Linked DNA regions of Homo sapiens: region 2 is linked to region 1. Evidence: promoter capture Hi-C in human tissues and cell types (Jung and others, 2019). All regions are on one chromosome and are shown on one strand. The core of a region is centred on a gene start or on the middle of the fragment in contact, and the rest is flanking DNA. Distances in the headings are between cores, read along the strand shown. Region 1 holds the start of EEF1D (eukaryotic translation elongation factor 1 delta). Region 2 holds the start of SCRIB (scribble planar cell polarity protein).

Evidence for each region. The method cuts DNA at HindIII sites, captures the fragments that hold promoters and counts their contacts. A contact is called where the count stands out against the background at its distance.
Region 2: a contact is called between the fragment with the promoter of SCRIB here and the fragment with the promoter of EEF1D in region 1, in 8 of the 25 tissues and cell types used here (IMR-90 fibroblasts, adrenal gland, dorsolateral prefrontal cortex and 5 more).

The regions. Positions count from the first base shown.
Region 1 is chr8:143,596,165-143,598,864 of GRCh38, forward strand. It overlaps EEF1D (eukaryotic translation elongation factor 1 delta), which reads right to left and starts at 1,251. Exons shown (of 10, transcript NM_001130053.5): 1 at 1,184-1,251. It overlaps TIGD5 (tigger transposable element derived 5), which reads left to right and starts at 1,667. Exons shown (of 1, transcript NM_032862.5): 1 at 1,667-2,700. The coding sequence starts at 1,740. RefSeq lists an enhancer at 1-498. The HindIII fragment of the contact is 45,525 bases long and covers 1-2,700 here.
Region 2 is chr8:143,814,379-143,817,078 of GRCh38, forward strand. It overlaps SCRIB (scribble planar cell polarity protein), which reads right to left and starts at 1,395. Exons shown (of 37, transcript NM_182706.5): 1 at 836-1,395. The coding sequence starts at 994. PUF60 (poly(U) binding splicing factor 60) reads right to left here. Exons shown (of 12, transcript NM_078480.3): 11 at 2,532-2,700; 12 at 1,966-2,441. The coding sequence ends at 2,142. RefSeq lists enhancers at 1-437, 722-1,354, 1,355-1,987. The HindIII fragment of the contact is 41,605 bases long and covers 1-2,700 here.

The DNA of each region.
Region 1 (2,700 bases), core at 1-2,500:
GGCAGCGGGGGCTCTGTCGGCTGGGCGCTCACTCTGCCAGCACTGACTGCGTGTGAACCCTGCAGCAGCCCAGGGGAGATGCTGCTGTCTCACAGGATTGGCACTGCGCCCAGAAAGCCTCTACAGAGGCAGGTCTAGGAGCCTGGCTGGGCCTGAGGCATGTGGTGAGAAGGCGAAGGTGAGCGTCTACTTCCTCAGAGGACGCTCGGGGGCTCCTTCCACACCTGCCCAGCCCCTCAGCTGCATCCCCCACCCCCAGAACGGGGCTGGGCACACACGGGCTCCGGAAGTAACCAACTGCCTGCGAGCCAGCTGCTTAAGGCTCATGGGGTCCAGATGACGGGGTGGGCGGAGCTGTAGAAGGAGGCTGCTCAGGTGAGATGGCCTGGCCTGCCTCCCTGGGAGGTGAGCCGCAGGCAGTGTCAACTTAAGAAGCACCCCGCCCTGTCGGGCAGGGACAACCCCAAGTTTAGCTACACAGTTCTTCTGCTGCCAGGCGGTCCTTCATTCTGGAAACCAATCCTGACGTCTCATCAGGTCCCCAACCCACTCCGCCCCCTTTGCCTTCTTCCTTCCACTTAAAGCCTCTGAAAGTACTACTTCTTAGCAACAGCATCCCCGCCCCCTTCAGAGACTGCCCGACCACCCTATCCAAATCAAGAGACAGAAATTTTGACCCAGTCACAGTACAGGCTTATTCCTTTCCGTGCTCACTAGCGTCTAAGTTCCAAAAGTGTTGCGTCCGTGCCTATCCCCTCCGTGCTCAGCTGATGCGTGCAGTAACTGGTGCTTGACAAAGACGTGGTGTACGAAGGTCTGCAGGCCAGAGAAACAGCTGGGGCAGATGTCTGGTCTCCCACGGAGACGGCAGCAAACACAGGCCTTAGGCCCCAGCAGCCTGGCCGAGGGGCTTCCACGACCGGGATGCGCCGTGAGACAGTGCTCCCGGCGCCCCCGTCCCGCGGACGCCCTCCAAGCCGGCCACGTGGCCTCCGTCGCCCCGCCTCTCTGCGCTCGCCCCAAGTGCCGCACTTGGCCCACGGCCCCTAAGCCCGCGCTGGCGCACTTGTGCCTCAGTCCCTAACGGCGCGAGCTTCTGGCGCAGCCCGGGCCGCCCGCCCTCCCGGCCCCTCGGGCGTCTCTGTCGCGCCCGACTCCTTCCGGCGGGGGCCGCGGTACTCACACGCCAGCCAAGGACGCGGCGACCAAGGAGGAGGAATCGGCGGACGCGGGAAGACTGATGAAAGGGAGGGCCGCCCGGGCCGCGCACGGGAAATGAAGCACTGGGCTCTACCAAGAGCCACGGGCCGGGGGCCCGGGGGGGGGACGCGACCCTTGCACACGCCCCGCCTGGCCGCCAGGACCCTCGACGCGCCGTGCCCCGACACTTCAAAGGCAGAATTCCGTTGGAGATGACCGCGGAGGCCGCTCTTCCCCGGAGGAGTCTGCACAAGTGCTGGGAACGGGCGGCAGCGCGCGCGCCCCCCCTGCGCTTCGCGGCCAGTGGTGTCGCCGGTGGGGGCGGGTCCGGCAGCCGGCAAGCGCCGAGTGACGCACGAGGCGGCCAGCGCGCAGGCGCGGGGCGGGGCCGGGCCGGGCTAGGTCAGCGCGCGTGCGCCCGCCAAGCTGCGGGACAAAGGGGAGGGACCCGTGCGGCCCCGCCCCCGAGTGCCCCGCCCCGAGCGGCTGGGCGTGTGGCTCCCGCGACCCGCGCGGCCCGGGTCCCCCCCGCCGCAGCCATGTACCCCGCGGGCCCCCCGGCCGGCCCGGTACCGCGCCGCGGCCGCCGTCCCCTGCCCGGGCCCCCCGCGCCCGCCCCAGCCCCCGTCCCCGCTGCACGGCCGCCGCCCCCCGCGCCCGGGCCGCGGCCCCGCGTGGCCGTGAAGATGGCCTTCCGCAAGGCCTACTCCATCAAGGACAAGCTGCAGGCCATCGAGCGCGTCAAGGGCGGCGAGCGGCAGGCCAGTGTGTGCCGCGACTTCGGCGTGCCGGGCGGGACGCTGCGCGGCTGGCTCAAGGACGAGCCCAAGCTGCGCTGGTTCCTGGAGCAGCTGGGCGGTGAGGTGGGCACTCAGCGCAAGAAGATGCGGCTGGCCAACGAGGAGGAGATCGACCGCGCCGTGTACGCCTGGTTCCTGGCGCTGCGCCAGCACGGGGTGCCGCTGTCTGGCCCGCTCATCCAGGCGCAGGCCGAGGCCTTCGCGCGCCAGATCTACGGGCCCGAGTGCACCTTCAAGGCCAGCCACGGCTGGTTCTGGCGCTGGCAGAAGCGCCACGGCATCTCCAGCCAGCGCTTCTACGGCGAGGCCGGGCCCCCAGCCCCGAGCCCCGCGCCCGGCCCGCCCGTCAAGGAGGAGCCCGCGCTGCCCTCCGGCGCCGGCCCCCTGCCCGACCGCGCCCCGGCCCCGCCGCCCCCGGCCGAGGGCGGCTACGGGGACGAGCAGATTTACAGCGCCAGCGTCACCGGCCTCTACTGGAAGCTGCTTCCGGAGCAGGCTGCGCCCCCGGGCGCAGGGGACCCCGGGGCGGGGGGCTGTGGCCGGCGCTGGCGGGGCGACCGCGTAACGGTGCTGCTGGCCGCAAACCTGACCGGCAGCCACAAGCTGAAGCCGCTGGTCATCGGGCGGCTGCCGGACCCGCCCAGCCTGCGCCACCACAACCAGGACAAGTTCCCGGCCTCCTACCGCTACAGCCCCGACG
Region 2 (2,700 bases), core at 145-2,644, 220 kb after region 1:
AGCCCCAATCCCCTACCCTGTGTCTTACCTCAGGGCCCACCCAGCCCCTGAACCACTTCTGCCACCCTCCAGGGGCCCACACTGGCCTCTGCTACTGCATCCTGACAACAAGCCTGGCCTGGTTCTGCAGCAAGAACTCAGTAAACGCTCCCCACAATAACACAGTACCACAGGCACAGTGCTACGCGCGAGGCCTGCAGGTGGCCACAGAGGACCGAGCTGTCACTGCCACGGCCAGAACAGGGTCACATTCTTTGGGACACCCAACCCCTAGGTACTGATCACCCAGCACCCCATCTCCAGAAAAGAAATACTTTTTAATCTGCTTTCTCCAGCCTCCTTTCTTGTAGCAGCCTTAGGAGAGCACCTGACCACGAGAAGCAAGGGTAAAGAAAGGGGGACAGCGAACAGATCCGAGAGCAAAGAGTACATCAAGAGGGCTCCCCCACTCACCCCTGCACCCAGCAAAAAAGGAGAGGAGGTCTGGACCCACCTCCAGAGCGGCCCAAGAAGCTAGTACTCATCAGCCACCTGAATCCAAGTTCCACCCTAACCCCATCCACCTCCCTGAATCCCCACGGGTTTCACTCTGAGGCTCCGCCTCCAGGCTCGGTGACAATCGCTATCCCCAGGCAAGCACCTGATGACCGCTGCCACCTGCGCCAGCCAGGGCGGCTGGAAGAGAAGGGTGGGGCTGGCTGGGGTGGGGACCTGGCCAGTGCAAACCAGCAGGGCCGGCTGGAGGCTGCGGTGACTCGCCCGGGCAGATTCTGCCGCCGGAGGAATCACGGGCTGGGGGCGCGCCTTTGGGCGGCAGGTGCGGGCGGCCGCTCACCTTGGGCAGCTCGCGCAGCTGGTTGGCGTCGAGCAGCAGCTCCTCCAGGCTGCGGCTGTAGCGGTAGATCTCCTCCGGCACGGCCTGCAGCGAACAGTGCCGCTTGTCCACCGACTCCACGTGCCGGTTGCAGCGCCACAGCGGGATGCACTTGAGCATGGTGCGGGTGGGCGGCGCGGGCTCCGGCGGCGGCGCTCGGCGGGCTCGGGGCCGGGGGGCGGGGCTCAGTCCGCATGGGCGCCGCGCATGGGGAGGGGGCGCAGGCAGGGGGCGGGCCGCCCGAGACTGGACGGGGACGCGGCCGCGGCCGGCGCTGGGCCCGGCCCGCGCTCGGAACGCTCGGACTGCGGGCCTGGGCAGGGGGCGCGGCCCGGCGGGTCTCAGACTCTTAGGAAGCGCGGGGAGCGGCGGCGGCGGCGGCTCCGCATCCCGCTTGGTCCTGCTCAGCTCGTCCCGCCCGCTCGTCCGCCCGCTGTGCCGCACCGGAACCGCCGCTGCCCGCCGGACTGCCCCGCCGACACCCACCCGGCCGCCGCGCAGCCCGTCGGGAAGCCGAGTCCGGCCCTCGCCGCCTAGCACGCCCGGACTGCGGCCCCCAGAAGGCCCCGCGCGCCGCCGCCTCTGAGGACCCGTAGCGGCACCGCGCAAAGCGTGCCGGGAAGCCGGGCCCGCCCCGCGCGCGGGATATTGGGAGCTACAATCCACGAGAGGCGGCGCCCTCCGCCCTCCGGTCTTCAGCCCGGCCCCTGGCCCCGCGGCATTTGGCCACGAATCTTAACGCACAGCCTCCTCCCGGGAAGCGACCATGCCCGCCCGCCCGCCTTGGACGGCCGGCTCTGCGGCACAAAAGCACTGGCAGCGCGCGCTGTCCAGCGGGTCGCGGTGTCCCGGTGCCCAGCCTTCTCTCAGCACCACCCTGCGGGGACGGCTGCGAGCCCGCGCGCGAGAGCCTGGCGCCCCAGGCAGCCCCGCCCACCCAGCCGCCGCCACCCGCGGGACGGGGCCCGGGGCGCCAACCCCCTGCCCAGGTCTCGCCCACGGCAGGCCCCTCCTGCCAACAGGAAGCAGGTCCAGAGACCCCCCCAACCCTGCCTCCTCGCCCTAGACCCCCTAAGGACACACGCCCAGGATCGGTGACAGGACCGACGGCAGACACACGGACGTTCAGGGCCAGCAGCATCCGCACCTTTATCCGCACTGTAGGCTGGGCTGGGCAGAGCGCGCCTGGCCCCGGGGACACCACTGTATCACTATAAAACCCAGAGGAAACAAGGAACAAGTGCAAGTCCGGGGAGAGGGACCACTGTCACGCAGAGAGGTCACTGTTATCAAAACGCTCCTGGTCGTACACTTCAGCCACCACCTTGCGGCCAGCAAACCAGCGGCCATTGAGGGCCTGGATGGCCTTATGAGTCTCAGAGGCTATGGAAAACTCCACAAAGATCTTGACAATGATTTCTGCATCCTCCTCCTCGCCTTGTTTCTCTTGGTAGATGATGACGCGGTTCACGGCCCCGAACTTGCCACACTCCTCTGTCACCTCCCCTTCCAGGTCATCATCGATGTCCTTGGGGTCCACCATGTTGCGCAGAACCATCACTGTAGACTGTGGGGCAGGGCCGAGGGGAAGACAGCTGAGCACTGCGGCCCCGCCCCCCTACCCTCTCCCCCGCCACCACCCTGCCCCTCTGCCTACCTCCTGCTTGCGGAGCAGCTTCTGCATCACCATGTGTCGGGCGCTACTGCCCGAGATGCTCATGTGCTCCTGCTCGCTCAGCATCTCTGGCCGCTCTGACTCGGGAAACAGCTCCTCTTCTTCCTTCTCCTTCTTGGGCTCCAGGAGACCCAGCGTTGGAGGGCTGGCC